Regions from separate parts of the Homo sapiens genome. Here region 1 is linked to region 2. The links are contacts of gene promoters, found by promoter capture Hi-C in blood cells and fetal thymus (Javierre and others, 2016). All regions are on one chromosome and are shown on one strand. The core of a region is centred on a gene start or on the middle of the fragment in contact, and the rest is flanking DNA. Distances in the headings are between cores, read along the strand shown. Region 1 holds the start of KRTAP7-1 (keratin associated protein 7-1). Region 2 holds the start of TIAM1-AS1 (TIAM1 antisense RNA 1).

Region 1 (5,186 bases), core at 2,280-4,779, 730 kb after region 2:
GGTGGTGGGCGCCTGTAAATCCCAGCTACTTGGAAGGCTGAGGCAGGAGAACCACTTGAACCCGGGAGGCAGAGGTTGCAGTGAGGCGAAATCGTGCCACTGCACTCCAGCCTGGGCGACAGAGCGAGACTCCGTCTCAAAACAAACAAACAAACAAACAAACAAACAAACACTACCGTCACTTGCCCCATTCCTCTTGCCTTGTTTGTAATATTTCAGATAATGAAAGCACTGTCAGCTTAAGTCTTATGAATGAGAACTTAGTTTAGTTGTTGTAAATTGGGAGTGACTTTTAGTGGTTATGGAGTTTCTTTTTGGGGTAAAGAAAATGTTCTGAAATTGGTTAGTGGTGATGGACTCTATAAATACACTAAAACCCACTGTATACTTTTTGTACACTTTTGGGTGAATTTTATCATATGTGAATTACATCTCAGTAAAGGTGCTATTCCAAAGATGGTTTGATGTGGTATTCTGTTCTGAGTTTTCTAGAAAGCAGAGTTTCAGGTGAAGGGCTCATGTACTATTGCTTTCTTCAGGAGAAGGAGCGAAGGGTAAGGGAAGTGAAGCAGGGAAGGTGGAGTGCTCAAATGAAGATGCCTCATCCAGTTGACCATAGCTAAGCAATTATGTGCTGGATTCCATGACACTATTCCCCAAGAAGCTGCCTAACCCTCTTAGGACTGTCTCAGGCAAGTCTGTCCATGGAGAAAAGGGGAGAATATATCCACACTTCCATTTCTTTTTGGTCGAAGTTTTGCTCCACAGGGCATTAACTGCCCTACACTTCAGGTTTTGCAAGCATGGGCCCTAGATAGGCTCCCCAGTCTCTATCCTAGCTATTAAAGGTGAAGTCCCCAGGTGGGGGATGACAGATATCTGGTGAGGGGACTGATGTAAAGCTCCATCATGTTGTACCAGCTTGAGGTGAGTTGGAACCTACACCAAGATGATTCCTATAGGGGCAGCTGCATAAGAGGTGGGAGAGGCTGGGAGGCTATGAGTGGGGTCTGATCCTTGCCTGATAAAAGTTCTCAAATTTCCAAGTGAATATGTCATGTAGGCTCCTTATTGCTTATTTTTTTCCTTGTAAATACTATGTGTCAATTCATTTTCTCTTTTCTTTAAAGAAAATACATGCATTCAAATAAATCAAATAAAATCTGGTGTTAGAACTAATCTCTCCCCCCACCAAATCAATTGGCATTGAGGGATTTTCTTTGTAAAACTAATATTTATGGCAACTTTTCCCTCAATTAGAGTACATAGTGATTAGGGGGAAATGGAGAAAAGAAAACAAAGAAAAGGAATTAAAGCTACATGCTAATCTACAACCAAAGGCTGACTAATATTACATGAATTGCACAAACAACTTATAAAACCTCTATATTTAAAATTGTTCAGGATTAGAATTATCAGGACCATTTTACATTATGATATGTAAAGTTCTAAAAAACTTTTTATGTCTGCCCTCATCTAATCTTTTGAAATATGTGTTAAAATCTGTTAAAATTATTTTAGCCCATGTAAGGAATAGAAATTCAGTGGAAGTCATTAATGTTGTTCGGTGACATTGTAGGCTTTCGCCCTCCAGGCACATAGTAGCATTGCTCTTCGTGACCTGTGAAGTTAGATGTGGCTGTGGAACTTACTTTAGGAAATGAGGAGAGTGTGGAAATGGTGTATAACACTTGAGGAGAGCCTTTAAAAGCTACCATGGCTTGCCCCATTCATTTTCCCCTGTTTGTCATATTTCAGATAATCAAAGCACTGTCAGCTTGAGTCTTTTGAGTGAAAATGATGTGTATCCAAGACAGTCACCAATGTGAGAGGAATTCATAGTGTGAGCAGGCAATACATTTCTGAACATGGAAATTTTGGATGTCTGTCTGTTATAGCAGCAAAAACTAGCCTTTGTTTTTTTGTTTTCTAGTTTTTAGCAGCAAAAGCTAGATCGATGTGTTCTTCAAAAAATAATGCAATGAATTATAGATTTGAGGCATGTAGAAGCTATATCCCTTTAAAGCCTTAATGACATATCAAAAGCAGGATAGTAAAGTAGTTAAGAGCATGGCTTGGAGGTAGATGGCATGGGTTTGGAGATTGATTCTGCTGACTATTAACCATGTGACCTTCAGTAATTCTCTTAAACCCTCTGGACTCGGTTTTCTTATAAAGAATCATAATACCCACATCATAAGATCATTATAAAAATTAAATGAATTAACACTTGTCAAATGCTTGGAATAGTGCATAGTAAGCCTTCTTACTATATATAGAGGTAAAATATATAATTAAGTAGTATGTGCAAATTCTTTAGAACAGAGTCTAGCACAGAGTAAGTCCTTAATGATATTTTTTGTTATTATCAATCTTAAAAATCATTGAATAGCAATCGAGTACTTGGCTGATAATTTTCTCTGGGTATGTCTAGTAAGAGATAGGAAAGTGAAAACAAGCTAAGGAGAAAATATAAGTTTTTCTTTTGATTATGGGTAACAAAACCAGCAGTCACATAGGTGGGTTTTACCTCTGAGGAGACACTTGAACACATTGCTGTTACCTTCCCTTTCTAATCAGGTGTGTCCTGAGACAAGAAGCAGAGAGCATCAAGAAATGGAAGAGGACAAACTAAAGCTTTTTCTTTAATTACCTCTATCATCCAGAGTTAAGGGAAATAAGTCACCAGCGACTGAAACCAAACACTCCTGCCAATGAGAGATAAGCATCTCTGGGCAATTTCACACAGCCCAGCAAAAGCTTTTTTGAATTCTCATGACAAACCAGCCCTGGAATTTATCAGGATGATTTATTCATCAGAATTACCTGAGATACCCATTACAAATAGAGATTTCCAGAATCTCAGGTGGTGGTGGGAGAGGAGAGCTCCTGGAATTCTGAATTTCAAGCGAATTCTTTAGAAGATTCTTCTACCTGCTTACATTTGAGAACCCTAAATCCAGTCCTGTGGTTTATACGGAGTAACTGAAATACCACTGCCACCTGGTGGCAGCATGTACAAATTACAGGTTCCAATGTCATTGTGTGATAGAATCAGTAGTGAAATTTTTCAAGTCACGCGTAATTCTTAGTCACCCCTGCCCTCTCCTAATCACAAACGTATTTTTGAGTTTTCTGGATTATCTGATACAGAGTTTATATAATTTAAACCCTGAGGACACAACCTCTTACCATTTTAATTCATTCTTTTTGTTAAACTGAATTTGAAATTATAACTTATTTTTCTTTAACTTTCTCTATATACTCTTATGACATTTAATTAATTTGTAGAATAAAAGAAATCATATCCACTTATAGAACATTCTTTAGGCAGCTCTCTGTCAGAGAAACTGAGAGAGATAGAATCTTAAAGAGAGAGGGATGTCTGAGAGGAATGATTAGTTTTGCATATTGGACTCTGTGATTGTCTGTTAAGATGGAAATAAAAAAAGGAATTGGTATTCAGGAAGTTTTTTCTTCTACTTTCAGAGAATTCTGACTTTGATTCACATATAAAAAGATGATGTCGTAAACCTTTGAATTGGAATAGACTTAGCTTTGCTGAGCTCAGATCCTTCCTGGTTTACGTTCTTCATGAGAATTGGTTATGTAAGGCAAAATAAGAGCAGAAGGAAGTGTTGCATCCTTAAATATAACTGGTATTTCATAATGGATCATGGCATTCAGGCTTGTTTTATAGGAGTCAGTAAGAAGCAAGTGTGGTATAACATGACTCTGAAATTGAGCATCATCCCACTCAGCGCCAGTGTGGCAACTCCAGAAAGACAGTTTGGCAATGTTCAAGATGATTTACAAGCAAACATGGTATGTTCTCCATGAAAAAATAAAATATGTATTAACAAACAGAATGCTCATAAATGAAATTGATGAAAATTACTTGCAGGTTATTCACAGCCAACTTATTATTTGGCACCATTGCAGCCTCTGTAAAAACACCTGGTTGGATAGATTTGTGTAGCAGTGCTTTTTAAAATAAAAAATACATTTTGAGTTAAAATTTGTATAACACAAACCAAGGCATTTTAAAGGTAACAATTCAGTGATATTTAGTACATTCCAAATGTTTTGCAACATTGTCTAGTTCCAAATGATTTTCTTCACTCCAAAAGGAAACTCTGTACCCATTAACTAGTTGGTATACAATTGTTTTAAAAGGGCACATGGGTGAATTTCAAGAGGTTATAGAATTTCAGTTTGATGTTTCAAAATAATGTTCAAAAGACCTCAATATATGGCTTTGTCTTGGCTTGAAGTGTTTGCATTCTTGCCAAAGCTTTTTTAGTTTAGCTATGTCAGTTGGGAAGAGTTTATAATCAGAGGATTTAAAGAGTCTCACATGATGCAATCAAGAACAGTAGTTAAACTATGGGACTCTGATGAAAAGAATTCGATTGCGTGTCAAGCATGGTCACTGGCTTTAAAATAGTACAGAGAAAAGCCAACAAAAATGTGGGCAATGAGTCTGTGCATTCCTTATAAGCATTTTATTAGAAAAGAATGAGATTACCTATGCAAATTAGTGGGAAGATGTTTAGACAGATGTGTTGTGCCCACCAGCTTGAGGTATAAAAAGCCCTGTACGGGAAGAGACCTTCATTAACACTTGGGTAACTTACCCTTCACAATCCATCTAAATCCTTCTCAATTGCTGCCACCATGACTCGTTACTTCTGCTGTGGAAGCTACTTCCCAGGATACCCTATCTATGGGACCAACTTCCATGGGACCTTCAGAGCCACCCCCTTGAACTGTGTTGTGCCTCTGGGCTCTCCCCTGAACTATGGCTGTGGATGCAATGGCTACAGCTCCCTGGGCTACAGCTTTGGTGGTAGCAACATCAACAACCTGGGCGGCTGCTATGGTGGTAGCTTCTATAGGCCATGGGGCTCTGGCTCTGGCTTTGGCTACAGCACCTACTGATGGACCAATGGCTCCAGTGACTACAGGACTCTCAATTAATTCTCTGCACAGAACAACCTGAAGAGCAATGACTGTCTTCCTACCTTCCCATGTGCTTGGGTGATACATCTTCCATCTTCTTGCTGACTTCTTGCTGTGGTCTTTGTCTTTGATGCTGTTGGACAAGTCACCCAGGACTCAGGTGCTGAACTGATACTCATCTACAGACAAAGGAAGCAAGATGCATTTTTTTGGTCATACTTGAA
Region 2 (4,975 bases), core at 690-3,189:
TTTCAAATATATGTATTTCCCCTAGATGGTGGCTTGTAACAGGTAAAGAAATGGCTCTTTGTCCTGGGATGAAAAGCTTCTCAAGGGAATTATTCTCCATTCCAAGCTGTTGGCTGAAACGAGGCTGGTTTTGGAAGGGGTGTCTTTGGAAAATCTCTCAAACTTGACTCAAAAACCTCCCTGTAATACTGATCATGGAACCTGGTGGACGCATCCGTTCAAGAGCTACCATGCTACCCATTCTTCTCAAACTGATGTTTTAGAAGCACTTCAAATCCTTAAAGCTCTTGCCTATAATTATAGCTCCTCTATAATTCATGGATTCCATGTTTTTTCAGTGCCCCAAATGTGCCAAACACTGTGCTAGGACTGGGATCCAGCAGGGAAGATAGATAAGATTCCGGCTTCCATGGAAGGCTGCAGTGCAACAGGCAACTTCAGCCCCGTGTCATACAGGCCTGTGAGGGGAGCACAGGGGGTGGAAGCACTGGAAGTGGAAATGTGGCATCTAACCTTGACAGGGTACAGGAGGCTTCCCGGGGTCTGTAAGAGCAGTAGTTCAGCAATGCCTACTGCATGGATGCCTTGGCGGCCAAGCTGGGATCTGAAGAAGGGTAGGAATTAGTGAAGTGAAGGGAGGGGCTGGGGGTTGACGTGTTCTGGGGAAAGAAAAGAGACCCAGAGTTGGGAGCGCAAAATGAGATTTTTCTGCTTAGAAGGATCATTCTGCAAAGTGGAGAACAGATTTCAGGGGGCAAGGCCTGGGACAGAAGGACGATGGGAGCCCTTTACTGAGGTCCAGGTGAGACAGGATGGGAGGAATGGGTTTGGGAGGTTAACAAAAATGGATGGGAGAGGGTTAAGAAGAAGGAGGAATCAGGGATGACTTTCAATTTTCCGGTTTAGGTTTATCTTCCACAGCGTGGGCAATTCTTTTTGTTTTCAACAAGATCACCCCGGGAGCGCAGACCTTCCCAGCTCCCGGGGCGAACACGTGTGTATGGAATCAAGGTGTAAGGAACATACATCCCAGCCTTTGTTGTAAATGGGGAAGTCTAGAGCTCTTCAGGAGAGGAGGAAGCTCCGGCCTCGTGTAGGGAAAGGTTTCGCTCGAGGCTGTACCGCCAGCGTCTCCGTTTCCGCGTTCTCCACAACCTTGCGAGAGGTAAACTGCAACTGTAGTTTCCGGATTTTACAGAGGAGCCCAGGAGGTCTGCGTGAACCCTGCCCGAGTCACTTACTCTGCCCAGCAGGTAAGCGTAAGGCCCAAACCCCACGCTGTTATTCCAAGTTCGCTTGCTGGGCACGGTAAGTGAACCCTGGGAGTCCTGGACTCTGGTGAAGGCCACCATGCCCTACCTGGAGGCTGCTCAGGGTCTAACATCCTCTAGCATCCACGGGAAGGGATTGCGTTAGGATTTTTTTCTCTCGTAAAAAAGTTCCTGTCTCCCCCTAGAGCCAGGCACACGCCTCCCGCGCCAGACCACTTGTCCCAGGCACAACATTTTTTGACTCTTCGCCTCCCCCGTTTCGATCCCCCTTCCTCTCCGCCTTAGGTGGCAGGAAAATCCTTTACCTCCGACCAATCCCACCGATGCCGAGCCGCGCGCGCGCGCCAACTAGAGCTCCGTCTGTGCACGCCATTGGCCACCTCCACCTATGCGAGATGACAGGCAGCTTCGCGGACCTATCGCCGAGGGAGGCAGAGGCCTCCGGCCCTCCCAAAGCTGCTTTGTTAGGGGCTCCCTGGTCGTCCCCCGGCCCGCCGCGCCTCCGCTGCCTGCGGGCGATCTCCCCGGGCCGCGCTGACGGAGCCTCGCAGGAAGGCATCTCTGGAGCGCGCGCCGCCCGCGCCCCTCCAGCCGCGCGCTCCGAGCCTGGCTGCGGCGCGGATACCCGGCGTGCGCCCATAGTCGCTCTACAGCCCAACTCCGAACGCCCCGCTCCTGCATCCACCGCCTCGGATTGGCTGGCCGGAGGCGGAGCGATTGTCAGGCGGCCCAATCGGAGCTCGGTTTCCCACGGGCTCCCGCGGCCCGGCCCCCGAGGCCGCAGGCGGAGGGGCCCTGACAGCTCCGATTGGCAGACCACGAGCGGGTTCGAGCGCGGCCGGCAGAGCAGCGCCGCCGCCGTCGGGCGCGCAGCTCTGCAGCTCCGCGGACGCCTTGGCGCCCGCAGCCCCAGGGGCACGGCTGCCCCGCATCGTGCCCGGCCCCGTCGCGGAGATCCCGGACGACCGTCGCGGGTGAGTACCGCGGGCCTGGGGTGCGCGGGCGTCCGGCCGGAGCCGCCCCGGGAGACGGCGGCGAGGATGCCCGGAGCCTCGGTGCCCGTGCCGGGCACGTTCTGACCCCCGTCTCCCGCACACTGGGGCTCCCGGCGGGTCCTAGCTCCCCCCGATCGGGCTTTCCACGTATTGTTTTCGTGTTCACACACTTGGGAGGTGGGGAGATGCGGGGAGGAGAGGCAGGAGGAGGCATCCCTCGCGCGAAGGAGGGAGACGAGACCGTGCAGCCCAGGTGCCTTCGCTGGATGGAAATGACAGCGTCCGGACGTCGGCATTCGGTCCTCTCGGCAGCAGGAGGTCAGCGCTGACCTGCGGCGGCCGCGGCACTTTGTATTTTATCGGCTGATTTTTGTCAACTTCGGGGAGGGCGTGCTTGTGCATCCTTGTGTCTATGTTTGCGTCTCGGTCCCTGACTTAGGCACCTCCGGGCCTGGCTTTTCGGCGACGCGTCCTGGGCGCTCACCTTGGCGATCCGTGCCGCCCTCGGGGCCGGGCTCACCGGGCGGAAAGCCCGGGGGCCGGCGCACGGAGCTGGGGACCCGCGACGAACCCCCGGAGGGGGGCATTAAAAGCGGAATCCTGCGGGTGCGCAGACAATGCCTCATCCGGGCGGTCGGGTCCCGGGGACTGTGCCCTGGGTCCCCGCGCCCTATCCCGTCCCCGCCTCGCCCTCTCACCAGCTCTGCCGCTGCGATGCTGCTGCGCCGCGCCCCTCGCCACCCGGCTGGGGACCCGCGTGGGGCCCGCTTTTGTTTACAGACCTCGCCATTGGGCGAGAGCAGCGCGCCGTGCGCCCCCCAGCCCCGGCGGCTGCCGCTTGCCCCCTCGAAACCTGGAGAAGTTGTTGCGCGCTGTCAGGTGACGCCCCCTCCCCCCGGCCGCGGGGCGGGATGCTGCAGGGGAAAGATGCCGTCTCGGCGCCTTCGCGCCCAGCCCCCGCCGCGCACGGCGCCTCTAGGTCCCCTGCACCCGGGGGCGCCCGTGTCCCAGCCTGGGGTCCAGGCTGGCGGCCCTCGGGGCGCCGACTCGGCCACACTCACCCGGTTCCAGTCGTCGCGTCTCCTGGTCTTGCCCCCGGGTCAGCCCTGGTTGACTCGGAGCCTGCCTTTTCCCGCGCGCTGGCAGGTCTTGAAGGACGTGCGCGAGCCCTTGGGGACACTGTGCAGTCTGTGCCCGCCTCGGTGACACCCGCGCGGCCCCGCAGGGCAGCTGTGCCGCATCCCGAGTCAGAGCCGTCCGGATCGGGTTACCCATGCACGCTGACTTGGCGCATACTTTGAGTTGGAGCAGAGGTTTAGAGCCTGTGCGCTGAGGTCAAACAAACCCGGGTTCCAGTACCTGCTCGGTGTCACTCACAAGCTGGGTGATCCCGGCCGAGCTATTCTATCTTCCTGTGTCTCAGTTTGCGCATCTGTAAAGTGGGGATAAGGAATAACCTCTAGGGGGGCGGGGCTTAAACGACCATATAGATTAACCTCAAAGCACAGTGACAGCCACGTATGAAATATTAGAGTCCTGTTGATTCTGTGTTAGAGGAAATCTGTAATAGAGGATGGCCCCTTGTCGCTTTCCTTTTCTGCGTTCTTCACTCCCCCAGCCCCAATTTCTTTTTATTATAAAAGGCATGAAGGACTGCTGTTCTCAGCTTCAAACAGGACTTGTTTTACTTGGCCTTAGGTTTAATTAGATTTATCTAATCGCTTGCAGCCCTTTTAAAAATGTGTTTGAATTTCCATTAGGTTTTAGTTGTTTCTTCTTTCTTCTTCAAGATTCTGCTGGGACCCAGACCTGGGTTTGGAGAAGGAAAAACCCTTCCAGGTGGAAAGCAGTTGCCAGTGAACCAAGGACTGCTGTGGAAAGTGATTAAGTCCAGGAAGGAGGGAGGTTTGAACAAAGAGATGTCTGGAGGTTAGGAGGGAACACTTTCTAGGAGAGATGAAATTTAAGCTATGCCTTGTAGCTGAAGAAGTTTGGTAAATTGTTGGTTTCCAGCATATGCTTTTTTGTATCTCAAGGTAAAAAGCTGGGCTAGGGAGGGTGGATGCCTTTGCGTGGTAAACACCGACGTTGCTAAGTAATTATCTTTGAATAGAGGAGAAATAAAACTTAAGGAAGAGGCTGTTGACTAAGCAGGGAAGGTAGAAGAGAATCAATTTCATTGAATATCTTCAAAATGTTGTGAATGTGTTTTGAGTTGTTTTTCCTCCACTAGCTCTGCACTGCTACTTTTCTTTAGGCAAAAAGAGAAATCAGTTTCATATAGAAATAAACAACACAAAATAATAACAGTCCATAATCAGATCAGATGATCTCAGGCTTAACGACAAAGATTTTATTGAAAAAAAAAAACTTCCTGTTTTAACACCCTTTTGCCTGTTGGAATAAATTATTGGGTCCAACAACACATTCTTTGAATGTAGGCCCCAGGGGCCTTTGCCAGCCAAAACAGGCAAACAAACAAACATAAACTCGACTTGTAGGCTGTCCAGTGGTTGGAGAAGCCCTCAGGATTGCGCTCTGTCTCTTCCGTTCCCCTGGGCCTGCCTCAGTTACCCCGAGTGGAATCTGACTCCCGTGAACCCCTATTCGGCTGTTGATGTGGAACGCGGCCAGTAGCATTGTTGCTAGATGTCAATTAATAAATATGATAACCTATTTAAAGTTGAACTCTCAGAAATGATTCTCATC

Evidence for each region. Contacts are between HindIII fragments. The CHiCAGO score rates a contact against its expected background, and 5 or more counts as called.
Region 1: a contact is called between a fragment that was not itself captured here and the fragment with the promoter of TIAM1-AS1 in region 2, in 1 of 17 cell types (M2 macrophages). The highest score is 5.5, in M2 macrophages.

What each region holds. Positions count from the first base shown.
Region 1 is chr21:30,829,190-30,834,375 of GRCh38, reverse strand. It overlaps KRTAP7-1 (keratin associated protein 7-1), which reads left to right and starts at 4,617. Exons shown (of 1, transcript NM_181606.3): 1 at 4,617-5,186. The coding sequence starts at 4,678. The coding sequence ends at 4,941. The HindIII fragment of the contact is 1,534 bases long and covers 2,763-4,296 here.
Region 2 is chr21:31,556,197-31,561,171 of GRCh38, reverse strand. TIAM1-AS1 (TIAM1 antisense RNA 1) reads right to left here and starts at 1,939. Exons shown (of 2, transcript NR_171013.1): 1 at 1,577-1,939; 2 at 685-1,155. It also overlaps a transcript of TIAM1 not described here. RefSeq lists a silencer at 1,591-2,220 and enhancers at 1,500-2,312, 3,126-3,939. The HindIII fragment of the contact is 6,855 bases long and covers 79-4,975 here.